Regions from separate parts of the Homo sapiens genome. Here regions 1 and 2 are each linked to region 3. Evidence: promoter capture Hi-C in 16 types of primary human blood cells and fetal thymus (Javierre and others, 2016). All regions are on one chromosome and are shown on one strand. Each heading gives the region's core, a stretch centred on a gene start or on the middle of the fragment in contact. The rest is flanking DNA. Distances are from core to core; before and after follow the strand shown. Region 1 overlaps EFHC2 (EF-hand domain containing 2). Region 2 overlaps EFHC2 (EF-hand domain containing 2). Region 3 holds the start of NDP (norrin cystine knot growth factor NDP).

Region 1 (4,438 bases), core at 468-2,967, 230 kb before region 3:
GCCCTCCAATTTTATTAAGTTTGTTTGCTTGTCTATTCTTAAATCAGTATTATCTGTTTTCATTTATTACTATAGCATCATGATATGTCACGATGAAATATAAGCAGGGTAAGTTCTAATTTTTCTTCAGATTTGTCCTATTTGCAGACTTTTAATTTTCCATATGAACTTTATGACCACTTTTTCTAGCTCTATGAAAAGGTGATTGTATTTTGATTGGAATTGTGTTGAATTTATACATTAATTTGAGGACAGAAATTTTTCACAAAAATTTTAGATTCAGAAGGTACATGTGCAGGTTTGTTACATGTGTATTTTGCATAATGCTGGGGTCTGGGCTTCTACTGACCTTGTCACCCAAATAGTGAACATAGTACTCAATAGGTAGCTTTTCAACCCTCGCCTTCCTCCCTTTCTCCCCCTTTTTGGAGTCCTCAGTGTCTATAATTTCCATCTTTATGTATGTGTGTACGTTTTGTTTAGCTCCCACTTACAAGTGACAATATGTGGTATTTGATTTTCTGTTTCTGCATCAATTCACTTAAGATAATGGCCTCTAGCTGCATCCATGTTGCTGCATAGGACATGATTTCACTCTTTTATTTATGGCTGCAGAGTATTCCATGGTGTATATGTACCACACTTTCTTGCACTGATATGTTTATAAAAGTGGTATTCACAATAACCACCTCATAGAATCAACCTAGGTGCCCATCAACAGTGGACTGGATAAAGAAAATGTAGATTTCTTTTCCTTTGGGTAGATACCCAATAATGGGATTGCTGGGTTAAATGGCAGTTCTATTTTTAGTTATTTGAGAAATCTCCAAACTGCTTTCCACAGGAGCTGAACTAATTTACATTCCCACCAACAGTGTATAAGCATTCCCTTTTCTCTGCATCCTTGCCAGCATCTGTTATTTTTTGACTTTTTAATAGCCATTCTGACTGGCGTGAGATGATATCTTATTTGATTTTAATTTGCCTTCCTGTGACAATTAGTGATGCTGAGCATTTTTTCATGTTTGTTGGCTGCTTTTATGTCTGTCTGCTTTTGAGAAGTGTCTGTTCATGTTCTTTGCCCACTTTCGAATGTTGTTGTTGTTGTTGTTGTTGTTGATTTAAGTTTAGATTCTGTATATTAGTCCTTTAGTCAGGTTCATAGTTTGCAAATATTATCTCCCATTCTGTGGGTTGTCTGTTTACTCCATTGACAGTTTCTTTTGCTGTGCAGAAGCTCTTTAGTTTGATTAAGTCCCGTTTGTCAATTTTTGGTTTTGTTACATTTGCTTTTGAGGTCTTCAATATAAATTCTTTGCCTAGGCAAATGTCCAGAAGAATTTTTCCTAGGTTTTCATAGTTTTAGGTCTTACATTTAAGCCTTTCTTTTTTTTTTTTTTAGAGACGGAGTCTCACTCTGTCACCCAGGCTGGAGTACAGTGGCATGATCTCAGCTCACCGTAACCTCCGCCTCTCGGGCTCAAGCAGTTCTCCTACCTCAGCCTCCTGAGTAGCTGGGATTAAAGGCACATGCCACCATGCCCAGCTAACTTTTCTATTTTTGTGGAGACGGAGTTTCACCATGTTGGCCAGGCTGGTTTTGAACTCCTGGCCTCAGGTGATCTGCCCACCTCTGCCTCCCAGAGTGTTGGGATTATAGGAGTGAGCCACTGAGCCCAGCCACATTTAAGTCTTTAATCCATTTTTAGTTCATTTTTGTATATAATGAGAGTTAGGGATCCAATTCATGTCTAGCCAGTTTTCCCAGCACCATTTATTGAAGAGGGTGTCCTTTCTCTATTGTTTATTTTTGTCAGCTTTGTCAAAGATCAGTTGGTTGTGGGTATGTGGCTTTATTTCTGAGTTCTCTATTCTTTTCCATTGATCTATTAGTACGTGCCTATTTTTTGTACAAGTACCATGCTGTTTTGGTTACTATAGCCTTGTAGTATTGTTTGAAGTTGGGTAATGTGATGGCTCTGGCTTTGTTATTTTTGCTTAGGTTTACTTTGGCTTTTGAGGCTCTTTTTTGGTTCCATATGAATTTTAGAAATGTGTTTTTTCTAATTCTGTGAAAAAAATGACATTGGTAATTTGATAGGAATTGCATTGAATCTGTAGATTGCTTTGGGCAGTATGGATATTTTAATGATGTTGATTCTTACAATCCATGAGCATGGGATGTTTTTCCATTTGCTTGTGTCATCTATGATTTCTTTCAGCAGTGTTTCATAGTTCTACTTGTAGGGGTATCTCACCCTTTGATTAGGTGTATTCCTAGGTATTTTATTTTTTGTGTCTATTGTAAATGGGATTTCATTCTTCATTGGTTCTCAGCTTGAATGTTATTGGTGTATAGAAATGCTACTAATATTTGTGCAGTGATTTTGTATCCTGAAACTTTACTGAAGTCATTTTTCATGTCTAGGAGTCTATTGGAGGAACCTTTGGAGTTTTTTAGGTGTAGAATCACATTATTGGCAAACAGAGATGATTTGACTGCCTTTTTCCCTATTTGGATGCCTTTTATTTCTTTCTCTTGCTTGATTGCCCTGGCTAGGACTTCCAATACTATATTGAATAGAAGTGGAGAGAGCGGACATACTTGTCTTGTTGCAGTTATTAGGGGAAATGCTGCCAACTTTTGTCTTCCTGATGTAAGCCTTTAGCACTATAAACTTTCCTCTGAACACTGCTTTTACTGTATCCCACAGGTTTTGGTATGTTGTGTCTCTGTTTTCATTTGTTTCAAATAATTTTTTGCTTTAATTTCATTGTTTACCTAAAAGTCATTCAGGAGCAAGTTGTTTAGTTTCCATGTATTTGTGTGGTTTTGTGAGTTCCTCTTGGTACTGGTTTCTAATTTTATTCCACTGTGGTCCAAGAAGATGCTTAGTAGAATTTTGATATTTTTGAATTTATTGAGACTTATGACTGAGCACGTGGTCAATCTTAGAGACTATTCCATGTGCAGATGAGAAGGATGTATATTCTGTGGTTATTGGGTGGAGTATTCTGTAGATGTCTATTAGGTCCATTTGGTCAGAAGTCCAACTTAAGTGCAGAGTTTCCTTGTTAGTTTTCTGCCTCAGTGATCTGTCTAGTCCTGTCAATGGGATGTTGAAGTCCTCCACTATTATTGTATGGCCATCTATGTCTTTTCTTAGGTCTAGTAGTAATTGTTTTATAAATCTGGGTGCTCTGATGTTGAGTGCATATATATTTAGGATAGTTAAATCTTCTTGTTGAATTGAACGCCTCATCATTATATAGTGCCCTTCTTTGTCCTTTTTTAATGTCGTTGGTTTAAAGTTGTTGTTGGTTTTAATGTTGTTGGTTTTATCTGATACAAAAATAGCTACCTCTGCTCTATTTTGTTTTCCATTTGCATGATAGATCTTTCTCCATCCCTTTACTTTGGGCCTATCAATGTCATTACATGTGAAATGGGCCTCTTGAAAACAGGAGAAGGTTGGGTCTTGTATTTTTTTTTTTTAATCTAATTTGCCATTTTATGTCTTCTATATGGAGCGTTAAGGCCATTTATATTCAAGGTTAGTATTGATATGTGAGGTTTTGTTCCTATTGTAGTGTTGTTAGCAAGTTGCTTTGTAGTATCAATTGTGTAGTTGCTTCATAAGGCTCTCGGCTTTATACTTATGTGTGCTTTTGTGGTAGCAAGTATTGTTCTTTCATTTCCATGTTTAGAACTCCTTTAAATATTTCTTGTAGACTGGTCTGGTGGTGATTAATTCCCTTAGCATTTGCTTGTCTGGTAAAGACTCACCTTCGTTTATGAAGCTTAGTTTGGTGGGGTATGAAATTCTTGGCTTGGATTTATTTTCTTTAAGAAGGCTAAAAATAGGTCTCCAATCTAGGAGGTCTACTGTTAGTCTGATGGGATTCCCTTTACAGGTAATTTGGCCCTTTTCTCTAGCTGCTTTTAAAATTTTTCCTTATGTTTTGACCTCAGATAGTCTGATGACTATTTGCCATGGGAGTGGTTGTCTTGTATAGCATTCTGCAGAAGTTCTCTGAATTTCTTGTATCTGCATGTTGACCTCTCTAGTGAGATTGGGGACATTTTTCTGAATTATAGCCTCAAATGTTTTCCAAATTGCTTGCTTTTTCTCCTTCTCTCTCTCGAATGCCAGTAAGTCATAGGTTGGGTCACTTTACATAATCCCATATTTCTCAAAGGTTTTATTCATTTTTAAAATTATTTTTCCTTATTTTGTGTGACTGGGTTAACTTGGAAGACCAGTCTTTGACCTCTGAAATTCTTTCTTCTACTTGATCTAGTCTATTGTCAAGGCTTCAAACTATATTTTGAAATTCCTGTAGTGAACTTTTCAATTCCAAAAGTTCTGTTTGGTTCTTTCTTAATATATCTATTTCATCTATTTCATCTGTCATTTCCTGGATCATTTTTCTGTTT
Region 2 (4,700 bases), core at 260-2,759, 250 kb before region 3:
AGAGCATAGAAAGTCAGCTGGTCACATTGTCTTATGAATCAGGAGGTTGAAGGATCAGCAGAATGCCAGGAATGATGCATCTGAGTGAGAAAGACAGAAAAAAGCACCGCTAAGAGCACGTCCTCCCTACCAAAATCTGGGGGACAAAGGAGGGACATCTCCAGGAATGTGATGAAGTTGGAAAATAGTAAAAACTTCACCGATTATCAGAGCAAAGGTGATATGTATGCATCTGTGTATACATGTGCTTACACACATATGTGTATTCTGAAAGACATGAAAATATAGGAATCGAGGGAAAAATATATGACAGTAGTTGGAAATATTATAACAAATCATGATTAAGATTTTCTCTAAGGTGAAGCTGAATTCTGGGACTATCCAGTGGCTGACCGAGGCAAATTTCCAAACAGCAGAAACACAGGGAAATTCAAATTCAGGGTCTAGTACAATCGTGAGACTTCTTAGGCTGAAAACAAAGTGAATGGAGCATTTAGGAGAATAAATTAAATCATGGATGGAGGACAAAGGGGACTTTCTCTTTAGGCTGAGAATTCTGGCTCCTGACAACGATAGTGGCTGAAAGCTATATAGTAAACTCCGCTTGATGCAGTCAAGATGTGGGCTGAGAAATGAGGAAGTGAGCCCAGGAGAGGGTAGCAGGGAGGTCTTTCCAACTTTGTGTCTGCAGTCGCCTATTGCATCACTACCTGGTGGCCTGGAGCCCACCATTAGGCCCAGAGTGTCCCAAGAGCTCATTTGTTGTTTTAACAAAGCTCTTTTGTGTCTCCAAAATGTTCTTTGGAGAGAAGCAGTCAGAGGACATATTTTTATTGTTTAGAATTCCCAACCTTCTGGGATCAATAAGAATTTATAGTTCTTTGTTATTGTTCATAGTCACATACACATGTTCATAGTGTTTTGGAAAATAAATGGAGACAGTAAAGAGCAGAGACAATTACACAGGCCATGGGCTAATGGAAGGCAGTGGAGGTGAAAGCAAGAAATTTCCATCAGAAATGAGGGAGTGGTTTCGTTTTATTATTTGTGTCCTTTTACAAAAGCATCCATTTTTCCAGCACTCGCAAAGTCTATTGGAAACACTTTAGTGAGTTTATAGGGCTTTTTGGGAAGCACTTAGGCCAGGCAGGCGATCCAAGGAGGAAAAGTTGCTTTGCAGATGGAGGCCTGACCCTAATTGTGGGTGGGATAAAGGGCCACTACGCTGTGATTGGAGGGGTGGCCTCAAGGAGCTGCATGCTCTAAAAGAAGGACCTCCCCGTCCCAGAAATTCCTTAAAATGAAACTCAGATCAGGTTTCGCCTGGCTTGAAAAATCCTTCAGTGGCTTGCCATTGTCCTCACAATAAGATCCAAACATTTGACTGCAGCCAGCAAGGCCTTGAGTGATGTGAGTCTGTTTGTATTTCCAGTGTCATCACCTCTTTTTCTGCAGCCCTGTCTTTTGGCCTTACTGACTGTCTTTCGGTTTCTCAAACACATCAAGCTCTTTCCTGTCTCTGAGCCTATGCACACCAAGTTCCCTCTGCCTGAAATGCAGTCACCACCATCCTCTGCATGGCACACTCTAGGACTCATCTCAAATGCCAACTCCCAGAGGGGCTTTCATTCAGAGGGGCTTTCTAGATCCTATCTAGAGTAGATCACCTGCTGTTATTCTTAGCCACTTGTTTATATTTTTCACAGCACTTAGCACAACTTGCAGTTATTTTATTTAGAGATCTGTTTACTTGGGGGTGGGGTATCTATGTGTATGTGCTGTGTGTGTCTTCTCCTATTCGAATGTGAGCTTTCTGAGGGTGGGGAACTCAATGGTGTTGTTCCCTGCAGCATCCCCTACTGCTGGGCTCAATACATATAGTTACTAAATGAAATAATGAACCACTAGAGTTGTTCCTGGGGGTTCTAGTTTGGAGGTGATGGCATGGCCTTCAAATGAGAGCGTAGACCAAGAGTCTAGATGTCTCAATCCATATGACATGCTTGGTGCCGGATGCTGAGCCCTCTGTGCTTGGGGCTGCTCATTTGTGCTCAGCCCACAAATGGTCCCTGCACCTTGTCTTCAGCCCCATCTTATGCTTTTCAAACTCTTTGAGCAAAGAAAAAGGAACTACATAGCCCGTGTCTATCACATCATACCCTAATTCAATTCTTTGCTCAGTGCTTTTACTAGCTAATATTTTCCTTTCATTATGTATGCGTATGTGTGTGTGTGTTTGTGTGTGTGTGTGTATTCTGACTCTCCTCATCAGAATATAACCTCTTTGAGGGCAGGGACCTTCTCTTTCTTGTTTTCTGCTTTAGCCTTATGACTTATTTCAGTGTCTGGCAAACAATAGGGTGTTAATAAATACTAGTTGAATGGGTACATTTTTTTTTTGTTTAGTGTTTAATATGCCTCAGATGAAATAATTCTCTGAGATAATTCTCTGCTTTTGTGTCTTTTGTGTTCTACCTTCTCTCTTTTCTCTTCTCCTTCCTTCCTTCCTTCCTTCTTCTTTTTCTTTTTCTTTTTTTTATTATACTTTAAATTCTGGGGTACATGTGCAGAACGTGCAGGTTTGTTACCTAGGTATACACGTGCCATGGTGGTTTGCTGCACCCATCAACCCATCATCTACATTACGTATTTCTCCTGATGCTATCCCTCCCCTAGGTCCCGACCCCCCGACAGGCCCCGGTGTATGATGTTCCCCTCCCTGTGTACATGTGTTCTGAATGTGTACATTTTATCTAGCCCTCACTGCTTTGGCTTTGACCTGTAGGCTGATTGTGTCCATGCTAGTTCTTCAAGCTCAGACCTTTCTCCTGAGCTATAAACCTGGAAACACGAATACCTCTGGGACGTTTCCCCCTCGCATGTCTCTTAGGCATCCCAGAAATAACTTTCCCTAACTTGACCTCATTTTCTTCTTTCATAAAGTAGCAGCTAGGAGACTGTATCCTGATAAAGGCCATCATGGGCATCCCCAAGAGTCCAGACCAGGTGTTGGCTTTGTGTCTCCCCTCTCCCCTCTCTCGACCTCTCCCACTCACCCTTTGGAATTATACGTCTTGAACTACCTCTGGGAACTTTCCCTTCTTTACATCTGCAGCTTCACGGTTGTAGTTCAGCTTTTCATCACTGTTTACTTGGACCCTCTGGAGAGCAGTGTAACTGATCTCTTTTTCTTAACTCTCATCCTGCAAAGTTTTGCCAGAGTGACCTTCCTAAACTCTGATCGGATCATTCTTCTGCTCTTAACCCTGCATCAGTGTGTCACATGAGTTTGCCTACCTTTAGCTCCGTATTTCCATCTCACTAGAAGAATACTTTTGTAGAAGCCACCATGTATTGAGCACTTACTGGGGGCTAAGCATCGTGCTAAATGCTTTATACCTACTCTTCACTGGTAGCCTCCTGTCAAGTTGTTACTTGTTTGCTTCCCTGCCTCCACATCAGCTCCTGCCAAGTGCAATAGATGTTTGCTGAATAATTTAATGAACGATCCTATTTCTCAAGGAACGTTCAGTCTAAAGCTTGCAGCAATCAAGTAAATAATTGATTTCCTTGCACCAGGGAAGGGCCATCTGGCTCTTACTTAGGGAAGTAAGGAGAAGCTAGGCCTGATCCTCACTAGCCAAGTAACTTGGGCAACTCACTTCACCTACCTGTATCTCACTCATTTGTTCATATATTGGTCTCTGAGGTCCCTTCTAGGCTCTGACAACTGGAAACTCTGAAAATGTAAGTTTATAATATTCTTGTAAAATGTTCTCTTTTCAAATTTGTACATTGAGATAGTAGAGAAGAGCAGAGGCAAGCAAAGGCAGGACTGCAGCATAGGCCTATGGGCTTGGCCTCTGTGGCCCTGACTCTCTTCTGCTTAGATACCTGGCACTCTCAGCATACACCTGGGGCTTCGGGGCCCAGACCTGCTGCTCTGGGCAGTGGTCCAAGCCCCCAGCATTGCCCTTTTTCTCAGAGATGTGCATCTCCTCTCAGAAAAACTTTGAGGGTAGGAGCTGATAAACTACCTCTGTATAAGGTGCCATGGTCAATAATGGATTAATGTGTGGGCCTCTCGGAGATATTTGCCTCAGAATAGACCTGATGGAATGCAGGGACAGGCAGCCATCAGGAAACAGAAGTAGGGAATGGTTTTTGTTTTTTTTTTTTTTAATTTTTTTATTTGGGTAGGGAACATTTCTCTTTTGCCTTGTGGGAATTCACCACTTCTGCTTCTGTTTCATTGATCCTCTTTAGAATCTTTTTGGCATGGTCTATCAGATTCGCCTGTGAGAGCTGCTGATCGTTATCCAAGAGAGTGCAGATAACCTTTCTTAGAGCCTTAGGATAGATACCTGGTGGCAGTGGTGGGCAGATTTCAGCAGGGAGCAGGGCAGGGACTAAGCTTGGCAGGGCTAGTATTTCATGCAGTTGGGAACATAGGCAGGGTGGGGCTTCCCAGTGAGGGCCCTGGACTCTGAACCACAGGCAGCAGCAGCAGCAGCAGCAGCACTGAGAGCCCAATGCCAAGGAAGATGTGGTCAGTCCATCTCTCTGGCCACCTCCCTGAGCCTTGATCTACCCATCAGAGATGACACCTGGCCCCATGTAGCCTGTGTGTATTTTGGTTAGCTGAGTGCTTGTCTCTTCTCTCCACCTGGGGAAGCTCTCAGAGGGCAGGGCCCATGCCT
Region 3 (4,529 bases), core at 444-2,943:
AAGTTCTGATATTTGAAAATGTTGGTGGCCAAAGAGTTTATTCCCCCTCCCAATCTGACCCACAAAATTAGGCCAGAAAATGTATTCCTGACTGTTTCCATGGCTCTTACTCAGCTACAAGTCATTTCCCCTTTCAGATTATTTCCAGTTTTAAGGCCCAATTTCCATTTGCTTTTTGATCTTCTGCTTTTAAGATATTTAGCCAATATCATCATCAGCCAAGTGCCAGGTTTTTTTTCAAGGCTTTGAATTTGTCATTTATCCATGATCTTCGCAGGTGGATTCTGTTTGTGACTGGCTGGTCCAAGGTAGACAGGGTATTTTTTTTTCCAAGTGGAGCATAAGAAAAGGGATTTCTGGCAATAAAACTGAAAGTTTTAAGACACCTCTTGCAAATATCAGTGACTGGAGTAAAGGTCCCATGGAAAAGTAATAAGGTGAATGTAAATTTATTAATGAATAACAAATAGTTTGATACAGAGTTGAACAAGACAGTTTCAGCATCAACAATTACATGAAGCTCCCAAGAAAAATTTCTTTTTGAGTTTTATAATGTATTATTTTTTCCACGAAATATATATATTTTAAATTCTCAGTTTAATTCTTCATCAGTAGTATTAATAAAACAAATTATTCTGGGTCTGATTTACCTGACATAAAATAATTATTAAATGTTCTTTGTATTTTCCTCCAAAATCCCTGACGGTTTTCTGTGTTAATTTTAAGCTTTCAAAGGGCAAGAATTATGAAATATTTGCCTTTGTAGTCCCACAGCTCATAACACAGCATGATTCAGCTGCAGGTATTTAACCCACACACATAGTTACCTTTGTCACTTTTCTACTAGTTGTTGTGTAATGGGTTAGCTTTATCTATTAGTTTCTCCTTCATATAGCTCAAGGAGTCAAGGAATACACGTTCTCATTGTTTCTAAATCAGACCTAAAGTTTTATTCTAAATGATGCAGATGAAGGGGCTTATTAAAGTGCCATTGTGAATTTAATCATGTATATGCTGCTAAAAATCATTTAATGGATGAACAACCCGGAAAAAAAGAACTCTCACCACCCACACACATCGTGATAAAATAGGGCAGCGTTTTGCACTTGCTTTAACAGCATCGCCTGAGAAAAAAATTTCTGGTTCCCATCTTTCCCCTCTCTTACTTAAAATTTCAACTTCATCACAGTCAGCTGCCGAATCGTTCAACAGAATGCCACACTGCCTTTGTATTTCCAAAACTATACGTCTCTATTGCGGACGGCACATCTTTATGGCAGCCACATGCTTGAAAAAGAATTAAATTCAGAATATTCATTTGGCCTCTTATTAGTTCCATAATACCATTAAAAAAGAAAGAAAGAAAGAAACTTCCTCGCCCTTGTTCTGCTACGCTGTTCCCATCGTAAGATGCTCCGTGGAAGGGAGCCGAGCGGTGGGCAGAGGCTGAGTCCCCGATAACGAGCGCCTCACATTTCCGTGGCATTCCCATTTGCTAGTGCGCTGCTGCGGCCGCACGCCTGATTGATATATGACTGCAATGGCACTTTTCCATTTGACATTCTCTCTCTCTCTCTCCCTCTCTCTCTCTCCCTCTCTCTCTCCCTCTCTCTCTCTCCCTGTGTCGCTTAAACAACAGTCCTAACTTTTGTGTGTTGCAAATATAAAAGGCAAGCCATGTGACAGAGGGACAGAAGAACAAAAGCATTTGGAAGTAACAGGACCTCTTTCTAGCTCTCAGAAAAGTCTGAGAAGAAAGGAGCCCTGCGTTCCCCTAAGGTAAGCAGGAAAACAAGCGCTGCCGGCTTGCCTAGGAAATCGCTTCTTTCCAAACCGAGCATTTCATCCTCCTCTCAGACAAAGAGACAACCTTTAAATACCACTTAAATTTGCATTACTTTAATTTGCATTAATCTGTAGCATGCTAGCATTGTGTTTCTTAAATGAACGGGTCTTTGAAGTCTGTGACAGAGCAGGGAGCCTCCTAGAAAAGCTTGAAAATATCTTTTGGTTTGACTTAAAGAGATTTTTCTTTTCAAACTCTCTGCGTAGTTAGATGTAACTTTGTGATGGTTCTTATAGTTGACCCCGTGAAAGGGGGCTGCGAAGCAGCAACTTGCCAACATGGATTCATGGAGCCCAGTATCTTCCCCAGCACCCTCATCCCACTTACAATGGGGGCACTATTAACGCAGGCAAGACTGCGAGTTTAAAAGCGCACTGTTTACTTTTATTACTACTTATGTATGCTGCTGATCTCCTGCCAGGGCTCTGCCGGAGTGCTCAGAATGACTTCAAACAATAGGCAACATTTATTTCTAGCTTTCTGTGTCACGCTTTGCAGGAATCCTGCTCCCTTGCACTCTTCTTTCAGCGTGCAGGTCTTCGCTTCCATAGATGCATTGGGGAGCACCGGGAGGAGATGAGGATGGATTTACTGTATGATTTTGATTGGGCAAAAAGTCCGAGGAAATGCATGCTGTTTGCCTTGGACTTATTGCAGGGGGTTATTTTTAGTCATCAGCTCGTCCCTGCAGCATGATGTTCAAGGAGTGACCGGGAAAGGATGCTCCCACCAGCACAGAGACCAGGACCTGTAGGAATGACTCCTACCTGCGGGATATTCCGAGGTTTCTTTCAAACTTTGGAATACAAGTTCTCTCTTTAAATGAACAATTGAGCTGTAGGAGGCCTGGGCATAACTCTTTCTTGGGGGACGGGAAGTTTGATTGTGTACAGAATGTTAATGACTCAGAACGCCCAGTAACTGAGGCTCATTGTAATAGACAAACCCAGATAAGCCTCCATGAGAGGCAGACTCCCATCTTTACTGAGATTCAGGTGCGGGAAAGGAAGCTATTTGGCAAGATGGGAGTCCCTTGTACAGTTCTTTGTAACTCATTAATAACAGATATGGCTGCTGTGAAACATGTCTCTTTTCATTTCTAATATTAGTGTATTTTAATTACAAGGAGCTGGCATTGGCAAATTACCCCAACACATAAGATTAAATACCAGGTGCATTTGAAAACAGAGAGATGACTGAAATGGGGAGTTGCTGTGGGTGTCAACCAAATACAGCGGGGACGGCACAATGCTTCTCAACTGAGCGTTTAAACCAGATGCAAATATCTGCTCATTTTCTTCTCATCAGTCTTACTAATTCAAGGAAACTTTATGGTCCTGTTTGCCAGTTTTCATTGCAAATTGGTACACAGTTTATGCAAAACTTTTCTGATTTTCTCTGATAACCAGCCCAATAAGCATCGCTGAATGAAAATCTGATATTTGAATAGGTTAATTTACAACTTTGGGGTATTCATTAGTCAAGAAAGCCATAAAAGACACTATGGATTCCATTGCTGTAAAATTTTATTGTAATTTTTTTTTAAAAAAACTGCGGTTAGCAAAGCATTTAGCTGAATCAAAACAATTTTCTTAGACTATTATTCAGATCATTACATGAGAGTATTTGAACACAAAATGCAATGTTTTGCATCATTTATTTTAAAATACATTTGGTTCAGGTAACGGGAGAACTGGCTGAGGCCTTCTTACGACTGTGTACCAAGCAGCTGACACCCACAGATGGAAATGTGCCTGTGGAGTTTTCAATCTTAATTCGAGTTCCAATGACACTGTCAAGGGAAAAATAAATCATTTTTCAATACATTTAACAATTTCCAACTCATTTATTTTCCTGGGCCCTTGAAAAATGTGGTGAGTTTCTTGGAATTATAGCCACCAATGGTGGCCAGCAATCTTTATTTTAAGAACTCACAATTCAAGTACTATTATTCTCTGGTTAATTATTTATTTCATCAATTTTTAAATAAATATTTATTAAGCATTTTCTAGATGCCCAGTGCTATGCTAGTCCCGATGGATGCAAAGGTGAATGAGACATTGTCCCATACTCTAATTCTCAGTCCATATGCCATCTCTAGTTAGATTTTGGAACTGAAATGGGCATTGCCAATGGGTAAAGTGGGCAATAACTTTCCTGTTATAAAGAATTATTTAAAACAGCTACTGGTTTCTAGATTTACTTGAAATGATTCTCACTCATCAGTGGGTTTTCTTTCCATTTATGATTAAGGGATTCCCCTTTGGCCTTTTTCACCAGATCCTGGGTACACGTCATTTGCACAGCTAACACGGCTAGATCTTTCCAGCCTGGGTAGAAGAATCCCGGAAAAAGACAGTAGTTTATCCTTTCTCTGCTCTCCTGAGCACCCTGTGGAAAGGACCATATGCTGTCTCTATTGGGGATGGGTGTGAGTCGCCTACTCAGTAGCTAACATCAGGGCCACTTGATGAATCATCGAATTAGAAACATGCATATGGAGGAAGATGCAGTCACTATCCCTCACCACTTACTTGTCCCACCCCCAGTATCAAAACAAATGACCTCTGGGCCTGGCCTAAATTCAAGAGGCCCCTGGGAAGAAGCTGTTGGAAACTCTTCCCCAAACCCAGGTCTCCATCATAGCCACACAGTGTTGCTTTCAAATAACCCAGTATGGTGT

Evidence for each region. The method cuts DNA at HindIII sites, captures the fragments that hold promoters and counts their contacts. A CHiCAGO score of 5 or more calls a contact.
Region 1: a contact is called between a fragment that was not itself captured here and the fragment with the promoter of NDP in region 3, in 1 of 17 cell types (M2 macrophages). The highest score is 7.3, in M2 macrophages.
Region 2: a fragment that was not itself captured here is called in contact with the fragment with the promoter of NDP in region 3 in 5 of 17 cell types (M1 macrophages, monocytes, M2 macrophages and 2 more); the score reaches 7.8 in M1 macrophages.

The regions. Positions count from the first base shown.
Region 1 is chrX:44,204,474-44,208,911 of GRCh38, reverse strand. All of the region lies in intron 11 of EFHC2 (EF-hand domain containing 2), which reads left to right. Among named protein-coding and RNA genes, the nearest start is that of EFHC2, 140 kb to the left of the region's middle. The HindIII fragment of the contact is 4,172 bases long and covers 1-3,803 here.
Region 2 is chrX:44,224,732-44,229,431 of GRCh38, reverse strand. The region is part of intron 11 of EFHC2 (EF-hand domain containing 2); the gene reads left to right. Among named protein-coding and RNA genes, the nearest start is that of EFHC2, 120 kb to the left of the region's middle. RefSeq lists a silencer at 704-753. The HindIII fragment of the contact is 4,065 bases long and covers 1-3,541 here.
Region 3 is chrX:43,970,554-43,975,082 of GRCh38, reverse strand. NDP (norrin cystine knot growth factor NDP) reads left to right here and starts at 1,693. Exons shown (of 3, transcript NM_000266.4): 1 at 1,693-1,779. It overlaps NDP-AS1 (NDP antisense RNA 1), which reads right to left. Exons shown (of 6, transcript NR_046631.1): 6 at 3,531-3,638. The HindIII fragment of the contact is 1,267 bases long and covers 729-1,995 here.